Regions from separate parts of the Homo sapiens genome. Here all the other regions are linked to region 3. Evidence: promoter capture Hi-C in human tissues and cell types (Jung and others, 2019). All regions are on one chromosome and are shown on one strand. Each heading gives the region's core, a stretch centred on a gene start or on the middle of the fragment in contact. The rest is flanking DNA. Distances are from core to core; before and after follow the strand shown.

Region 1 (3,202 bases), core at 358-2,857, 350 kb after region 3:
CTGTCAAAATAGAAAACTACTGACAAGACTGATCAAGATAGAAATAAATATTAATGAAAAAGGTTTAATGTGACATATAAAGTATAAAGACATAATTAAAACTTAGATTGGAGGGACAAATTCTTAGAAAAATATAACAAGAACTAACTCTAGCTGGGCACAGTGGCTCATGCTTATAATCCCAGCACTTTGGAAAGCCAAGGCAGTTGGATTGCTTAAGCCCATGAGTTCAAGACCAACCTGGGCAACAGCAAGACCCTGTCTCTACAAAAAAAAAATTTTTTTAATTAGCCATGTGTAGTCCCACCTGTAGTACACATGTGTAGTACACACCTGTAGTCCCAGCTACTCAGGAGGCTGAGGCAGGAAGGTTACTTGAGCCCAGGAAGTCGAGGCTGCAGTGAGCCATGACTACTACTGCATACCAGCCTGGGTGACAAAGCAGACCCTATCTCAAAAAAAAAAAAAAAAGAAAAAGAACTGACTCTAGAAGAAATTGAAAACATGAATAGTCCTATAATAAAGTAACTGAAGCAATAGTTTAAAAATTACTGTAAGGAAAACACGAGGCCCAGATAATTTTACAGATGAATTCTCCCTATTTTTTCAGAAACATATTATTCCAATTTCATATAAAGTGTTCCAGATCATAGAAAAAGGAAATATTCACCTCTCCTAAACTGTGAGGCCAGGATAACCCTCATACCAAATTAGGCTAAACTAGCAGTAGGAAAATAAAAGTTCTACCCTATTTCACTTATATTAATAAATATATAAGCAAAAATCTAAAACGATATCAGAAAATCCAATCCAACAGTGTATAAAAAAGATAGCATCCTATAATCAGGTTGAATTTATCCTGGGTATATAGAATGATTTTATATTAGAAAATCCATAGAGTAATCATATTAACAGATTTCAATAGATTCAGAAAAATCATTTTAGGTGCCTAGATACAAGATTAATATACGAAAGCCAGTTGCATTTCAGCAAACAACTAGAAAAATGCAATTTAAGATAAGACACCAAGACTGGGCGCAGTGGCTCATGCCTGTAATCCCAGCACTTTGGGAAGCCAAGGCAGGCAGATCACCTGAGGTCGGGAGTTTGAGACCAGCCTGACCAACATGGAGAAACCCCATCTCTACTAAAAATACGACATTAGGCGTGGCGGCGCATGCCTGTAATCCCAGCTACTTTGGAGGCTGAGGCAGGAGAATCACTTGAACCCAGGAGGCAAAGGTTGTGGTGAGCCAAGATCATGCCATTGCACTCCAGCCTGGGCAACAAGAGCGAAACTCCATCTCAAAAAAAAAAAAAAAATTAACAGCATATAACATCAAGGACCTTGTAATAAATCTAATATAATCCAGACCTCTATAGAGAACATTATACAGCTTTAATAAGAGATACCAAAGAAGAGCTAAATAAATGGAGAAAGATATAATGTTCACGGATAGAAAGTATTGTAAAGATGTCATGATTTAAAAAGTCAGTAAATCAAACAAAACCCCAATAGGGACCTTCATGGAACTTGATATTAGAATTTTTAAATTTATATTGAGGAATAAAGGGCCAAGACATTTCTGAAGAAGACCAGAGAGGACTTACCCTACTAGATACCAGGATTTTTATTTTGAAACTCTAATGGAACAGATTAGTGAGCCCAGAAACAGACCCATGGATATATGTACCTCTGATATATGACAAAGGTGGCATATCAGATCTTGTGGGAAGATGGAATGGCTCACCAAATGAATCCCTATGGAAAAAGATGCACTTAATCCCTCCCTCACGTTATAAAGAAAATCAAATAATGGCCTTACAGTAATATTGTTTGACTTATTGTAAACAATGACTTAATAAGTTGAAAAGGATAAATATCTTTTAGACCCTAAGGAAATATTAAGACACAAGCATTCATATATTTGACCATATTAAAATACTTTTGTTCATTGAGAACTTTTACTCACTAAAAGGCAATTTAAAGAAAGTGAAAAGACGATGCATAAACAAACTTGGAGAAGGTAATCATAATATCTACCTACACTTGACAGAGGATTATTATCAAGAATACAGAGTATTTTATCATAGTTAAAAATAAAAATTTTTAAAAGATCACATAAAGAACTTTTTTTTGAGATGGAGTCTCACTCTGTCGCCCAGCCTGGAGTACAGTGATGTGATCTCGACTCATTGCAACCTCCGCCTCCCGGGTTCAAGCGATTCTCCTGCCTCAGCCTCCTGAGGAGCTGGGATTACAGGTGTGCGCCACCACGCCCGACTAATTTTTGTATTTTTAGTAGAGATGGAGTTTTGCCATGTTGGCCAGGCTGGTCTCAAATTCCTGACCTCAGGTGATCTGCCTGCCTCTGCCTCCCAAAGTGCTGGGATTACAGGCAAAAGCCACCATGCCCAGCCCACATAAAGAACTTCTAATCAACAATTAATGTAAAAATAATGGGAAAATGTGCAAGAGTCATGAACAAGAATTTTGCAGAAAAAACATATATGGCCAGTCATCACATAAAAAACATGTATGTTGAAGAAGCTGTAGAGCTACAATATCTCTGATACATTGCTGCTGGCAAAAGTTGTAAATTGGTACAACACTCGGGAAAACAGTTTGGCTTTCCACCAGGCGTGGTGGCTCACGCCTGTAATCCCAGCACTTTGGGAGGCCAAGGCCGGTGGAACACCTGAGGTCAGGAGTTCGAGACCAGCCTGGCCAACCTGGTGAAACCCTGTCTCTACTAAAAATATAAAAATTAGCCAGGCGTGGTGGCACACACCTGTAATCCCAGCTACTCGGAAAGCTGAGGCAGGAAAAGTGCTTGAACCTGGGAAGTGGAGGTTGCAGTGTCCGAGATGGTGCCACTGCACTCCAGCCTGGACGACGAGTGAAATTCTGTCCCCCCACAAAAAAAGATGAACAATCACATAGTCATAACCCAGTAATTCTACTTGTAAAAATATACTCGAGAAATTCTTGCAAATGTACAACAGGACTTATGCATGAGACTATTCCAATAACAAAAACTTGGAAACAACACAAATTTATTGAATGAATAACTGTGGTACATTCGCATGAAGGAATATATACAGTAGCTAAAACTAAACCCCAGTAACATGAAGCAACGTAGGTAAATCTTAGCAATATAAGAAAAAAAAAAAAAACGAAAAAAAAAAAACCAAAAAAAAA
Region 2 (3,130 bases), core at 150-2,649, 430 kb after region 3:
CTGTAAGATCAGAAAACTGTATCCAGAATAAGCCCTATGGATTAACCCCTGAGTACCCAGAGTAAAAACTAATTTACAGAACTTCCTTATTGATCTGCTGGTTCTTCCAGATCATATTCTGGCTATTGGTATGGCTGGCCTTTCTGAAGGTACCCTGCTTGTCTATTTTCCTGACTCAGCTCTTGCCTGCCTTTTTCACATGTTGCTGCAATTAGACTCACCGTGAGGACTACAGTCAATTTCAGTCTATCTTGTGCCCAATACAACAAGGATTTTTAATAGTAACAACCCACACCTCACCCACTAGGACTCAATGTTCACAACAGGAAGGACCATTGCTGCATACTCCTTGACCAGCAACTTTTTTGAAGATATTTTTAAGTGCAGAGTAGGCCTCTATTCCTGTATGTAATTGTTCATTTTCAGCACCTGGAACCTCATCTATCGGGTCTGGAAGGAATACAGCAGTTCGAAAGCCGCGTCCATTTCTCTCCTTCAGTAGTGCAGAAATGAGTCCGATTCACCAGTACACACAGAACTGTACCAGTTCAACCTAGCAAAAGAAGAAAAGTTTCCACTGTACTTAAAATTTACAGCTGACTCAAATTGCCTCACAGAATTATTTGATGTAGAAGGCTAGTTGTCTTACTTCAGATCAGCAGGACAGTTGGGCTCTCAGACTCATGACCACTGAGTTTGCTTGTGTTGAAACTGTGGTTTCATCCAACATATGCTATTGGACATGATTATTATTCCATTCAAATGGATTACAGACTTCTTGAGGACAGGACAAACTTATCTCTCATGGTGTTTTTTTAGAATACTTTTATAACCAAGGAAGAAACCATGCCAGCTGTTACCATTCAACTTCTTAAGCAGAGATTAAGCTTTTTCATATCTGTTCTTATCCTGGACATCAGTAGTTTTTAATTGCCCAGCATCCGTTCCATCTTGTAACAACTCCCTGATGTTTCTTAAAACCACCTCTTCCTATTTTCAGTCTGTGGTTTGGACAGTCTGACCCAACCTTGAGCTTTGTGGGTGAACATGTAATTCAGACCTCATCAATCAGCAAATCCATCTGAACTGTGGAGGAGAAGCTCTCTTTACTGAGGGTGCTTTAGCTTTGTAGGATGAAAACCTCAAACTAACAGGGCCTACCATGTAGAGAATGAAGCCAGTGCAGGGGAAAGCAGAGCCAAAATATGGAGAGACTTGAATCCTGATGACAGCGTTTGTGCCCCTGGATCCAACCGTGCCTGAAGCTAGAATATCCCCTGGACTTTTCAGTTATGTGAACCAATAAATACCCTTTTTTGCTTAAGTTACTTTGAGTTGGGTTTCTGTTACTTGAAATTGAATCCACACTAATATATCTACCAACATTGAGACTTGACAGATCCAAGTATTTATTAAGCTAGAGGTCATGGTCACTGAAATTACTTTCCAAAGTGGAAGACAAAATGAAACAGGAACTGAGGGAATATTTAAGATCCCACAGAAGCGTAAAAATGACATGGTAGAAAGTAATAGAAAACCTAAATGTCTGTCATTAAAGGATAGGTTAAGGTGTGGTTCAGCCATATAGGAATATCTCGTATCTGTTAAAATGAATAAAGTACATTCATTGTGTATGGAAAAATGGCCATGATACATTAGGTGAAACAAGTTATTAATAGAAAAGTGTACAGTGTGAACTCATTTTAAAATGTGTGTGCTTATGTTTATAAATGCATAGAAAGGTCTATTCACAGCTTTCTTTGAACAGTGTAGATCACATGAAACTTTCAACTTTATACATTTCTGTATTAATATTTTACACTACCCACATTATTTTTAAACTTTATTTTAAATAAAGAATTTTTAAAATTAAATTTAGTGCTTACTGTTTGACCTTGGCAAGTTATTCAACACTGAGCCTGTTTTATCAAATGATTTAAAATGCCTACTTTTATGTTAGTAAATATTAAATATAAATCATTCATTACTCAAGTTGACAGATTGCTATACCATTGCTTGTTTGAGAAACTCAGAGCTTAGTAATTGTTCCTTAGTTTTTTAAGCATGTCTCCTTCAAGTGAGTTTATTTGGATTATCAGAATTTTGTGGTTTTAAGGTTTATCAAAGATTATTCTAGTTCTTGACTGATGTTGATCTGCTAAGACTATTGCAGTATCCACATTAGGCAGAAAGCAGGGGGAAAGTCACTTTTTTTAAAAAATCCTTGAAATATTCTGATGTCACTGCAATTAAGGTCAATAGTGACCTTTTCATTGCTAAATCCGTTACACCTGCATCTAATATGAACTTTCAGCAGCACAGGTAACTCCCACCAGCTTCTTGAAACACTTCCCTTAAGTGCTATAATACTTTTAATTTTCTTTTCAACTTGCAGACTACTCCTTTATTGTAGGTTCTTCTCCCCATCATGTAAATATAGGTATAGTGGACATCCATTGCTTTGGCTTGCCAAAAATCACTTCCCCTTTACTTTAATCATACATCCCCACTTATCCTTTAGAAAGCTGCTCCTTCCCATTCTGTGTGGTGGTAGTGGAAATGTAGATGACAGTACTCCGGCCTCATGCCCCCTGGCTGAGGTTTGAGCAATGCAAGCTCGTTCTGTCCCACAAGGACTTTGATTCTTAAGAAAGGTGACCACAAAGTGATCAGAGTTGAGTCATTCTGATCGTAGTGTTCTAAAGAAACCATTTAAAAGTTTATGAAAGGAGATCTCCAAAGTATGCTGGCTCCTATTCTCCAAGCCTGGTTGTCCAAGTTTTCCTTTGATTGTATAAACTACCACATAGCCTCCTTAAAATAAGTTTCCTTTTTGTCAGCCAAAATGGGTTTCTATTGCTGGTGACCAAATGACTGACTAATTACAGAAATGGAGGCCGGAGAGTTAAATGGTAGGCCTTTAACCCACAGGAACATATGGAGGATCTGGAATTGATTATTGTACTGAGACAGATAATGGCACCAGCTCTTGTTCTGTGTCCCTGGGAGGATAAATCTACGAGTTAAGGGTGACAAAACAGTAATGATATCATTTCTTGTCATTTGGAATCGTGCCTGTTGAGAGTAGAATTTGGAGGGCCAGGTAATTGTTGACAATAGGACAATTTAA
Region 3 (3,563 bases), core at 319-2,818:
CTCCTCCCAGGCTAGAGACGAAAATGCACCCTGTTCCTGCCTCCTCCAGCTCATAGCTGAGGACGTGACCTGCCAATGCAGCCTCCCCAGCAGGCCAGCAGCCTTCACCAGCCCTGTCCAATATGGTAGCCACAAATTCTTAAAATGTGGCTAGTTTGAACTGAGGTCTGCTGTGAGTGTAAAATACACAGGATTCCAAAGACTCAGTATCCCCTCAAAACACTCATTTTTTTTTTTTTTGAAACAGGGTCTAGCTCTGTTGCCCAGGCTGGAGTGCAGTGGCACGATGTTGGCTCACCGCAGTCTCGACCTCCTAGGCTCAATCCATCCTCCCACCTCAGCCTCCCGAGTAGCTGGGACTACAGGCATGGGCCACCACACCCAGCTATTTGTTGTTGTTGTTGTTGTTTTTAGAGATGGGGTCTCCCTATGTTGCTAATTTTTTAATTTTTTGTAAAGATGTGTTCTTGCTATGTTGCCAGAACTCCTGGGCTCCAGTGATCCTCCCGCCTCAAAGTGCGGGGATTATAGGCCCGAGCTACTGCACCAGACCAGTTGTTTTTATATTGATTAGATTATATATTGAAGTTAATACATCATTAAACTTTACTTCAATTGTTTCTTTTTAGGTTTTTTTTGTTTTGTTTTGTTTTGTTTTTGTTTTTGTTTTGTTTTTGAGACATAGTCTTGCTCTGTCTCCCAGGCTGGAGTGCAGTGGCAGAATCTTGGCCCACTGCAACCTCCACCTCCTGGGTTCAAACGATTCTCCTGCCACAGGGTTTCACCCTGTTGCCCAGGCTGGTCTCAAACTCCTGACCTCAAATGATCCATCCACCTCAGCCTCCCAAAGTGTTGGGATTACAGGCATGAGCCACAGCGCCCAGCCTCTTTTTAGTTCTTTAATGGAGCTACTAGAAAATTTCAAAAAGGCCGGGCATGGTGGCTCATGCCTGTAATCCCAGCACTCTGGGAGGCCAAGGTGGGTGGATCACCTGAGATCAGGAATTCCAGACCAGCCTGACCAACGTGGTTAAAACCCCATCTCTACTAACATACAAAAATTAGCCAGGCGTGGTAGCAGGTGCCTGTAATCCCAGCTACTCCGGAGGCTAGGGCAGGAGAATTGCTTGAACCCAGAAGGCAGAAGTTGCAGTGAGCCAAGATTGTGCCGTTGTACTCCAACCTGGGCAACAAGAGCGAAACTCCGTCTCAAAAAAAAAAAAAAAAAAAAAAAGGAAGAAAGAAAATTTCAAATGACCTATGTGGCTTGCGTTTGTGGTGGCGTGGTATTTCTATTGGTTAGTGCTGGTGTAGCCTCTGGCTACCAAGCCCCTCAGGGTTGGGAAGAGACCCAGAGCTGGAGAGTTCAGAAGAAACTCAGGGACCTTGAGTCCTGCCCTTCCCCGTGGCAGAAGGAGAAACTGAGGCTGGTGTAGGAGTCTCTCCCTTCACTCACCTGGGCCAGCGACTTCTCCTGCGATGGGCTCAGGTCACCCACTTGTCCACTCATGCTGCCCATGAATGGGTCCAGGCTCCACTCTGTGGCTCCCTCCAGGTGGCCTGCCTTTTGCCAGCTGGTAGCCATGCCCACATTTATCACCACCCAGAAATCCCACTACTTCCTGTGAGCCTCAGGGCAACAGGTGGGGCTCATTCCTTACTAGGTGCCTCAGGCATGGGGCCCTGGATTCAGCCTGCCCTGGGTTCACATCCTCACTTGCAAAATTAGGACAGCGATGTTTCCTCGGAGCGTTGATGACATGTTGAAATTGACACCACCTGATTTCACACACACACGGAGGCGGCTGTTCACCCTGCCTCTCAGTCCCCTACCCTCTACTCCTGTGGTCCCATCGGATGCCTCTTTGAGCCAGGAGAAGTCATCTCTCACCCCCAACAGAGGCCCGGAAGTCACTGTCATCATGCCTTCACTCTCATCCCAGGCTTCATCTACCACCTGACATGTCCAGAGCAACTGCCCATGATTCATCCCAGATGTTAAGGCACATGGCTTCAGGGTTGAGGATGAAACTTCCCAGGCCCAGACCCAAACAGGTGGATTTGCAATCCTGAGCTGGGCCACACTTGGCCTGGGAGCCAGGATGAGAGGTGAGGAGGGACTCCTGGCTACATCTGCCCCCACCACCCACTGGACAAGCAGAAAGCCAGAGCCCAAGGTGAGGACACATGAGATCACGCGGTGTGCACGGGGCCTGGAACACAGTAGTTATTTGTAGTAGTCTGGGTTGCCCTGAAACAAGGAGTTCAGGGCAAGTTTATTAGGGAGGTGTCCTGAGAAACACAAGTAGGGAAGTGTGGAAATGAGACAGAGAACGGAAGGCAGCTGTATAGGCCTGGTTATCAAGGAAGTACAGAAGAGCTCAATCCCAGTGGGGACTTCTGGGAGACAGCAGGGAACCTGCCCATCAGCGTTTCCTTGCCTGAGTGGGGAGGGAGCTGGGGTATTTATGCAGCATCTCGGGACAGTCTTCAGTTGAGGGCTGCTCCAGGGGCTGTCAATTCTGCTGGCACTGCTGGCCTGCTGTGCACACAATTCAGAAGGCTGGAGAGCGTACTTAGGCAGAGAAACACAGGTGCTGCTGCTGGGGAGTAGTGAGGCTGAGGTGATACAGGCAGAACATCACCAGCTTTAGCTCTAATCAGAAACCGTTTGCTGGGCTCCATGTCAAGTTCTAGTCCAAAGGCTTCATGTGCTCCTTGAGCCCCAGACTGTTCTTCCCTACCTGACAGAGCCTGGAAGAGGGAAGCAGCATGCCTGGGGCCATACAGCCATGTAGTAAGTGACAATCAGGACTATCTGGACCTGGTGCTTACTCAGGACATTGTATCCCACATGCCTGGCTCCTGCCAGAGGCATGCACATAGGTGGCCTTACTAAGTCCCAGGAGAGTCCCCCTTAGCCCTGGAAGAGGGCAATGAGCAGATCTGCCTCTTCTACAGGGTGGGGCCTCCCCAGTACCCCACACACTGCAGGCTGGAGCTTGAGCCATAAGGGGTAAAATCAGGAACTCTCCCCTACTCTTGTCTCCTCCCACTGGGTCCCTGCTCCCAGCACCTCTGGCCCATCTTCTTCTTCTTCTTCCTTATTTTTATGTATTTATTTTTTGAGACAGAGTCTTCTTGCTCTGTGGCCCAGGCTGGAGGGCAGTGGCTCACTGCAACCTCCTCCTCCCAGGTTCAAGCAATTCTCCTGTCTCAGCCTCCCGAGTATCTGGGATTACAGGCGCACGCCACCACACATGGTTAATTTTTGTATTTTTAGTAGAGACAGGGTTTCACCTTGTTGGCCAGGCTGGTCTTGAACTCTCGACCTCAAGAGATCTGCCCACCTTAGCCTCCCAAAGTGCTGGGATTACAGGAGTGAGCCATCGCACCCAGCCTTGGCCCATCTTCTTCAAGCTGGCTTCTGAGTAAGTCCCTCCTCTGCTCCAAAGCCTCCCTGGGCTCCTTGTTACCCTCAGTTAAAAACTGTAGATGCCTTCGCCTAGACTCAAGGCCCTTTTGGGTCCCTCCTGAGCTAATTTCCCCTTCCTTTCTCCCTT

What was found. The method cuts DNA at HindIII sites, captures the fragments that hold promoters and counts their contacts. A contact is called where the count stands out against the background at its distance.
Region 1: a contact is called between a fragment that was not itself captured here and the fragment with the promoter of SEC14L6 in region 3, in 1 of the 25 tissues and cell types used here (aorta).
Region 2: a contact is called between a fragment that was not itself captured here and the fragment with the promoter of SEC14L6 in region 3, in 1 of the 25 tissues and cell types used here (spleen).

Annotation. Positions count from the first base shown.
Region 1 is chr22:30,898,948-30,902,149 of GRCh38, forward strand. The region is part of intron 12 of OSBP2 (oxysterol binding protein 2); the gene reads left to right. All of the region lies in intron 2 of LOC107985544 (a long non-coding RNA gene), which reads right to left. Among named protein-coding and RNA genes, the nearest start is that of MORC2-AS1, 22 kb to the right of the region's middle. The HindIII fragment of the contact is 3,788 bases long and covers 1-3,202 here.
Region 2 is chr22:30,977,522-30,980,651 of GRCh38, forward strand. TUG1 (taurine up-regulated 1) reads left to right here. Exons shown (of 3, transcript NM_001396518.1): 3 at 1-1,874. Among named protein-coding and RNA genes, the nearest start is that of TUG1, 9.8 kb to the left of the region's middle. The HindIII fragment of the contact is 3,375 bases long and covers 1-3,087 here.
Region 3 is chr22:30,545,173-30,548,735 of GRCh38, forward strand. It overlaps SEC14L6 (SEC14 like lipid binding 6), which reads right to left and starts at 1,569. Exons shown (of 12, transcript NM_001193336.4): 1 at 1,457-1,569. The coding sequence starts at 1,510. The HindIII fragment of the contact is 18,463 bases long and covers 1-3,563 here.